3 separate regions of the Homo sapiens genome follow, and all the other regions are linked to region 3. Evidence: promoter capture Hi-C in human tissues and cell types (Jung and others, 2019). All regions are on one chromosome and are shown on one strand. The core of a region is centred on a gene start or on the middle of the fragment in contact, and the rest is flanking DNA. Distances in the headings are between cores, read along the strand shown.

Region 1 (2,759 bases), core at 26-2,525, 220 kb before region 3:
CATGTGTCTTTATAGCAAAATGATTTATAATCCTTTGGGTATATACCCCATAATGGGATCACTGGGTCAAATGGTATTTCTAGTTCTAGATCCTTAGGAATTGCCACACTGTCTTCCACAATGGTTGAACTAATTTATACTCCCACCAACAGTGTAAAAGTGTTCCTATTTCTCCACTCTGATGATAGTTTCTTTTGCTGTGCAGAAGCTCTTTAGTTTAATTAGATCCCATTTGTCTGTTTTGGCTTTTGTTACCATTGCTTTTGGTGTCTTAGACATGAAGTTTTTGCCCATGCCTATGTCCTGAATGGTATTGCCCAGGTTTTCTTCTAGGATTTTTATGGTCCTAGGTCTTACCTTTAAGTCTTTGATCCATCTTGAGTTGATTTTTGTATAGGGTACAAGGAAGGGGTCCAGTTTCAGTTTTCTGCATATGGCTAGCCAGTTTTCCCAACAACATTTATTAAATAGGGAATTCTTTTCCCCATTCCTTGTTTGTGTCAGATTTGTCAAAGATCAGATGGTTGTAGATGTGTGGTGTTATTTCTGAGGCCTCTGTTCTGTTCCTTTGGTCTATGTATCTGTTTTGGTACCAGTACTATGCTGTTTTGGTTACTGTAGCCTTGTAGTATAGTGTGAAGTCAAGTAGCGTGGTATCTCCAGCTTTGTTCTTCTTGCCCAAGATTGTCTTGGCTATGCGGGCCCTTTTTTGGTTCCATATGAACTTTAAAGTAGTTTTTTCCAATTCTGTGAAGAAAGTCAGTGGTAGCTTGATGGGTATAGCATTGAATCTATACATTACTTTGGACAGTATGGCCATTTTCACGATATTGATTCTTCCTATCCATGAGCATAGAATGTTTTTCCATTTGTTTGGGTCCTTTCTTACTTCCTTGAGCAGTGGTTTGTAGTTCTCCTTGAAGAGGTTCTTCACATCCCTTGTAAGTTATGTTCCTTGGCATTTTATTCTCTTAGCAGCAATTGTGAATAGGAGTTCACTCATGAGTTGGCTCTCTGTTTGTCTGTTATTGGTGCATAGGAATGCTTGTGATTTTTGCACATTGATATTGTATTCTGAGACTGCTGAAGTTGCTTATCAGCTTAAGGAGATTTTGCATTGTGACTATGGGGTTTTCTAAATATACAATCATGTCATCTGCAAATAGAGACGATTTGACTTCCTCTCTTCCTATTTGAATACCCTTTATTTCTTTCTCTTGCCTGATGGCCCTGGCCAGAACTTCCAATACTATGTTGAATAGGAATGGTGAGAGAGGGCATTCTTGTCTTGTGCTGGTTTTCAAAGGGAATGCTTCCAGTTTTTGCCCATTCAGTATGATATTGGCTGTGGGTTTGTCATAAATAGCTCTTATTATTTTGAGATACGTTCCATTGATACCCAGTTTATTGAGAGTTTTTAGCATGAAGGGGTGTTGAATTTTGTTGAAGGACTTTTCTGCATCTATTGGGATAATCATGTGGTTTTTGTGATTGTTTCTGTTTATGTGATGGATTACGTTTATTGATTTGCGTATGTTGAACCAGGCTTGCATCCCAGGTAGGAAGCTGACTTGATCGTGGTGGATAAGCTTTTTGATGTGCTGCTGGATTTGGTTTGGCAGTATTTTATTGAGGATTTTTGCATCGATGTTCATCAGGGATATTGCCTGAAATTTTCTTTTTTTGTTGTGTCTGCCAGGTTGTGGTATCAGGATGATGCTGGCCTCATAAAATGGGTTAGGGAAGATTTGCTCTTTTTCTATTGTTTGGAATAGTTTCAGAAGGAATGGTACCAGCTCCTCTTTGTACCTCTGGCAGAATTCAGCTGTGAATCTGTCTGGTCCTGGACTTTTTTTGGTTTGTAGGCTATTAATTACTGCCTCAATTTCAGAAGTTGTTATTGGTCTATTCAGGGATTTGACTTATTCCTGGTTTGGACTTAGGAGAGTGTATGTGTCCAGGAATTTATTTTCTTCTAGATTTTCTAGTTTATTTGCGTAGAGGTGTTTATAGTATTCTCTAATGGTAGTTTGTATTTCTGTGGGATCAGTGGTGATATCCCCTTTATCATTTTTTTATTGCATCTATTTGATTCTTCTCTCTTTTCTTCTTTATTAGTCTGGCTAGTGGTCTATCTACTTTGTTGATCTTTTCAAAAAACCAGCTCCTGGATTCACTAATTTTTTGAAGGGTTTTTCATGTCTCTATCTCCTTCAGTTCTGCTCTGATCTCAGTTATTTCTTGTCTTCTGCTAGATTTTGAATTTGTTTGCTGTTGCTTCTCTAGTTCTTTTCATTTTGATTTTAGGGTGTCAATTTTAGATCTTTCCTGTTTTCTCTTGTGGACATTTAGTGCTATAAATTTCCCTTTACACACTGCTCTAAATGTGTCCAGAGATCCTGGTTTGTTGTGTCTTCATTCTCATTGGTTTCAAAGAACATCTTTATTTCTGCCTTCATTTTGTTATTTACCTAGTGGTCATTTAGGAGCAGGTTGTTCAGTTTCCATGTAGTTGTGTGGTTTTGAGTGAGTTTTTAAATCCTAAGTTCTAGTTTGATTGCACTGTGATCTGAGAGACTGTTTGTTATGATTTCTGTTCTCTACATTTCCTCAGGAGTGTTTTACTTCCAATTATGTGGTCAATTTTAGAATAAGTGCAATGAGATGCTGAGAACAACGTATATTCTGTTGATCTTGGGTGGAGAGTGCTGTAGATGTCTATTAGGTCTGCTTGGTCCAGAGCTGAGTTGAAGTCCTGA
Region 2 (2,716 bases), core at 35-2,534, 200 kb before region 3:
TGCCAAACTAATCTTTCTTTTTTTGGATAGTTATAGACTGGTATTTTAGGGAACCATAAATTAATGTATTATGATTTCAATAAAGTATTATAAAAATAATAAATTGAATCATGTTACTTCCTGCTCTGTTCAAAACCCTGTCTAGGGACTTCTCATTACACTAAGAATAAAATCCAGAATCCTATATGATCTGGCTCTTGCTATCTCTTGATCTTTATTTTCTACTTATTTTCTCTACTTACTTTCCAACCTGACTGACTTTCTTTATGCTTCTCAAACATGAATATGCCAGATATACTCAGGGTCTTTCTACCTGGCATGCTCTTCTCTGAGATACCTGTATCACTTTCTCCTTGACTTAAATCCCTTCTGTTTAGAAAGCCTTCCCTAACAACCCTATCTAAAATAACAACCTCAACACATGCTCCACTTATAGTGCTTTGTCTCCAAAGACCTTATCATTATCTGTGAAATTAGTTTTCAAGTATTTGAACTGGTTGACTAACCATAACCAGCAGGGGTTGATTTTTAATAACCTACAGATTGAATTCCAAATTTGCTAGTATACAATTCAAGACCCTTTGTAATTTGGCTTCAACTTAATCTTTCTACCTTTATATCTCATTTCACATTACTTTTGCCATCCTGCATACTCTTTCCTGCCTCCCCTAGCCCACCAATCCATCTTGACCACACTTATTCTTCCCATGCTCAAATCTCACCATGTAATTGTTGGTATTAGGAGTGAGAGAACTGTGTTTGATTCCAGCTTTTCCACTCTTACCAGCATGATCTTAGAAACCTTGCTTACTTAATTCCCCAATTTCTTTCTCTATGAAGACAATATGACTATCTTACAAAATTATTATCAAGTGAGGTAACGTATGTTAAGCGCCTGGCACAGGTTTAGTGCTTCACTTTTCTTTTCCTTCACTAATTAGACTATCTCGTCCTCCATTCCTGCAGCATAACAGGCAATCACTGTTTAATGGGATTGGTGGATGGTCAATATAGAGGATAATCTTATGTGCCAAACAAATCTGTCATTGGCTTTGCCTTTTTAACTGTTTTTATCAGGGACTTGGATGAAAAGTTGCAAGTTCCAGTATTAGGTCATGCATCTAGTAAATAATGGTCCACACAGGTTCAGATGGCTCAAAACTTTTGATTGTCCCATCATGCTATGATGTCTATAGAACTGGCAGCAGAGGAGTAAACTAATGATTTGGATAAGAGAATCTGGTCTTGTTTTTATCCCGATAGTGTGAAATGGACCAAAACAAACAAAGCTAATGTGGTTTTAGGGGTCATTAATAGAAATGTAGTCAAGATCAAGAAAAATATTAGTCTGGAGCACAGAAAGCACTCAATAAATGTTTCTTTGAATAGAGTTAAATTGTCAGACTGCACTTAGACCGTTGTGTTCCATTTTTGGTGCCATATGTTAAGAGTTGCTCTGCCAAACCAGACTCAGGGAGTCTTAGCCAATGATCACTCTGGAAACCATGTCAAATGAAGGGTTGAAAGAAGTTTGGTGTTTAACCTGGCTTGGGAATGGGTAGCAGGGGTGAAATGGAGTAGTCCCTTTCAAATATTTTATGATTTGATTGAGGAAGAAGGGTTAACGTATTCTGTGAAACTAGAGTGCAGAACCACGGCCAGCATTTATGAGAGAAATTGATTTGATTTTCACTCACCATAAGAAGGAACTTTAGAATTTGTTTTCTAACAATTAAATGGGCTGACTTGTGAAGGAGTAAACTTGGAGGTATTCAAGTAGAGGTTAGAAAATCATCTTATGAGAATATCGTGTGTGTGTGTGTGTGTGTGTGTTTGTGTGTGTGTGTATCTCGTGTATCTCTATTATGTATATATATCTATGGTGGAAGATTGGACTTTCTTGACCAGAGAAAATTTCCTTCTTCTCTGTTTATTTTATCTCAGGAGCTACATTGTAAATTTCCTGGGGGCAAGGACAGGTCTTTTCTGTATCTCCCAAAGATTCTTGATTATGATTCTGTTTTTATTTCAACATCTTCCATGTAAGATCCTTAATATAAACAAGTAAACCTTCTAATCTTTTCTCCTGCCTCCTTTCTTCACCCACCTCTACCCTCAGTCCCCACCAAAAGCAATAGCCTAAGCCCTAGAGTGTAGATATAGACTATAGGGCCCTTAGGTCATCTCTGAGATGACTTCTGAGACTTTTTCCCTATCTGTAATGACATGCCCAAGGTCCTATAACCGGATTGTGGTAGAAATGGGCCTAGGAATCAGGCATTCTGGCCCCTACACTATTTCTTTCCATTACACCATTATACCCTTGGGACACATTGTAAGATCCTGAAACTGGTGGCTGGTAGCCTGCCTCCATGTTATTTTTTGATGAGGGGAATTCAGGACAGTTGCTGCTATTATAAATGATTGCAGCACTTTCCAAATCCTAGCTTTCATAACTTCATTCCGTTTGTTCTTGTGCCAAGTTCACATTCAGATATTGTTTTCATTTGGTGTCTGGGAGGTTTTTTGCTGTCAACTCTTTATGGACAAGTGTTTGCTTATTAAGTTTTCTTCCGTGCTATAGTGTGAAAACATTTTTTTCCTTTTGGCTTTGTTTTGTGTGTTTTATGCTTAGTGACTGTTGTGGGATTGAGTAGATGAGCCCACGTAGATTTAGGTTGGTCCTCTGTGGGTGGTTTCAAATGTTTGTGACATT
Region 3 (2,700 bases), core at 151-2,650:
AATTTACATCACAACCCAACAAAATGGGTACTATTTTTAGAGGAGAAAGCAGACTTAGAAAGATGAAGAAATTTGCCGCTACAAGTTGATGAGCTGGGACTCAAATCCAGGTCTGTTCGGCTCTAGAACAGAACCTATATGTAACATGTCTCTCTTCATCTATCGCTCAGGTTTTATTCACGTGTCACCCTCAGTCATTCACTATGGTTCACTGGATAGCTAGGGAAGCACAGAACAAACACTCAGTATTTCACTCAGGTCAGGCTCTGTGCCCTGAGTGTGCCTGTCTTTGCCATGTTCTCCCAGCCAATGTTTTCTCTCCAATTTCTCCAGTTTTCCAGGCTTTCCATTAGACTGAAACTCAGCTCTGCTTCCATCTCTTCCACGTATTGTCTGAAGCTTTCCCTGATGGTTTCACATACACTAATCCCTGTGAACTCTTAAGTTCACCACTTCTTCTCTGGGGGTGGGGATGGAAAGAGAATAGAAACAAATTACTCTCTGGACAAATTCCATGCAAAGATTTTCAGCTGGGTAGACCCTTGATAAGAGGCCTGAAAAACGTTGGTAAAGTCCAAACCTACTTTTGAACCTCAATTGAGCACCTTTCTTTGTGGCCAGGTTTCACCCTCCAGAGTGTTGGTTAATAGGTTGAGGACAAAGACTCCCTGATCAGAATGAGACTCCCCGAAGATCTGTCCTCTTGTTTAGCAGAATCTGGCACATAGTAGGTACTCAGTGTATATATCGACTCAATATCATGCATCTGTTGTGTCCCAGCTACCTTCCACAGGGCTTGATGGGTTGACTTAAATAATGCTTTTAAAATTCAGGTTATTTCAATACAAACAGCCTGGCATCATTAAGGCACAAGAGCCTCACCCTTCTACACCACTTTCCACGAACTTCCAGTTGCCTTCCTTCAAAATCCTTGTTTTCTTAAGAAACCCACAAAAATACCGCCCCTCTATCAAAACGTCCTCAGCTTTGCCAGGTAGAGAATTGCTTCTGCAGTAGCTGGGCCACGTCTCTGTGGTAGTGCCCACTGCATGGGATCGGTATTAATCTGTTTGTCTTTTTCATCTTCTGGGCTGTGAGCTCCTAGAAGTCAGCTTTTTCACTTTTACCCAAGCCAAACGGTTATTCGCGTAAGGTTGGTTATAATTAAAATGTCGGTTTGTGCACATGGTTTGGGACTCTGTGTATGAGTACGACTAATATCTTCAATTTACTAAGAAGATAAAGAGGTCGATAAATAAGGAGGTCAAGCCCGTTTTGCAAGGTCACACAGGAAAGAAGCAGACCACGAAATGAACTTCGGCTGTCACCTGCGGTGGGCGCACTAGAGGTCTTTTGAACTCCTTCGGCTACCGTCGCCGCGTTCTCGCTGTGCACTCTTATTCTGCGCCTGCGCGCGGCTACAGCACGGTTCGTTTTTCCTTTAGTCAGGAAGGACGTTGGTGTTGAGGTGAGTCCGGTCCCTTTTGCATCCCTACCCCGACACTGCGGGTTGTCACAACGGCACCCTCCCGCTTTCTCTCTGCCTCGGATTTAGTCGTGACTGTGTGTCTCCGCCGTGGTGCAGCTTCAGGCCTCTCCCGCATCTACTCTCTCACGCTTCCGCTGCGGCCTGAGGGAGGGCGGCGGGCGGACCACGGACCGGGGTGGGTTGCGACGGCCCCACCGAAGCCGGGTGGGCTGCGGGACCCTCGAGAACCCAGCTGGCTTCGGAGTGAGCTGGCCCGGGGCTGGTACCCGCTGCGCTTTTTCACAGCCATTGTGACCTTGGTGAGGTCATTTGACCTATCTGGCCCCGGTGTTTCTCCCGTGAGAAAAGGGGTGGTGGTTTCTAATGCAGCTGGTCGTGAGGCGCAAGGGTTAGTGTAGGCGAAGCAGCTGGCAGCGTCGCTCGCTGTGTGGCAGCGTTTTAAATTAGAGCTGGAAAACTGGAGGAGGGTCACCGTACCTGCCGCAGGAGGGGAAGGATGGGCTTCCTGCAACCTCCCTTGCCCCACGGCTTCCCATCCTACCCCCGGCCGCGTTAGCTGAAGGCCAGCAGGGACGCAAAAGTTTTTAGGCCCCTTAGGTCTTTAGGTGAGGCTGGGCAAAGGAGCAGTTAGGGAATTTGGGCCCTCATGGTATTTGCCGCGTTCCCGTCCAGGTTTTAATGGTATACCGTGTGACCGTGGAAAACACCTGCCTCATGATCTGACAGGGTTGTCGCGAAGGTTTAACGAGTGGACAGAAAATTTTTAGAAGAGAAAGTGTTGCATAAATGGGTTTGCAATCGTTAATTACCAATGCGGAGCTACTGCTTATTTTTCTTGTTGTTGGAAAGATTTTTGTTGCCTTTGCTCGTCCATTACTAGTGTGCCGCAGTTTGTCGCGTTTATTTAGGGTGGTCGCTCAGTATATGGGGGGCGGGGGGAAGATGAAACAGGCTAAGCCAAGAGACAGCTTAGGCTTTGTGGGAGGAATCCATCCACTGTCGTGCTGTGCCTCTCTAGGTAGTAAAATGTACTATGCATGAGAATTCCTTTTGATATCTTTTCTGAGTTTTTCTTTTATTATTTTACCCGAGAAAGGGAAAAAAAGCTCAGAGTAGTGAGAGCTACATGAGGTATGCAGGACGCAGAGACCTGAGTATTGGACTTCAGTGCCGCCCCTCACCCATGTCTCAACCCAAATCTTATTCCTGAA

The links. The method cuts DNA at HindIII sites, captures the fragments that hold promoters and counts their contacts. A contact is called where the count stands out against the background at its distance.
Region 1: a contact is called between a fragment that was not itself captured here and the fragment with the promoter of COX6C in region 3, in 3 of the 25 tissues and cell types used here (H1 embryonic stem cells, bladder and thymus).
Region 2: a fragment that was not itself captured here is called in contact with the fragment with the promoter of COX6C in region 3 in 1 of the 25 tissues and cell types used here (aorta).

Annotation. Positions count from the first base shown.
Region 1 is chr8:100,111,213-100,113,971 of GRCh38, reverse strand. No RefSeq gene overlaps it. Among named protein-coding and RNA genes, the nearest start is that of RGS22, 6.5 kb to the right of the region's middle. The HindIII fragment of the contact is 8,380 bases long and covers 1-2,759 here.
Region 2 is chr8:100,088,329-100,091,044 of GRCh38, reverse strand. All of the region lies in intron 3 of RGS22 (regulator of G protein signaling 22), which reads left to right. Among named protein-coding and RNA genes, the nearest start is that of RGS22, 16 kb to the left of the region's middle. The HindIII fragment of the contact is 7,696 bases long and covers 1-2,716 here.
Region 3 is chr8:99,892,407-99,895,106 of GRCh38, reverse strand. COX6C (cytochrome c oxidase subunit 6C) reads left to right here and starts at 1,400. Exons shown (of 4, transcript NM_004374.4): 1 at 1,400-1,468. RefSeq lists a silencer at 1,619-1,788 and enhancers at 1,262-1,909, 1,910-2,558. The HindIII fragment of the contact is 7,152 bases long and covers 1-2,700 here.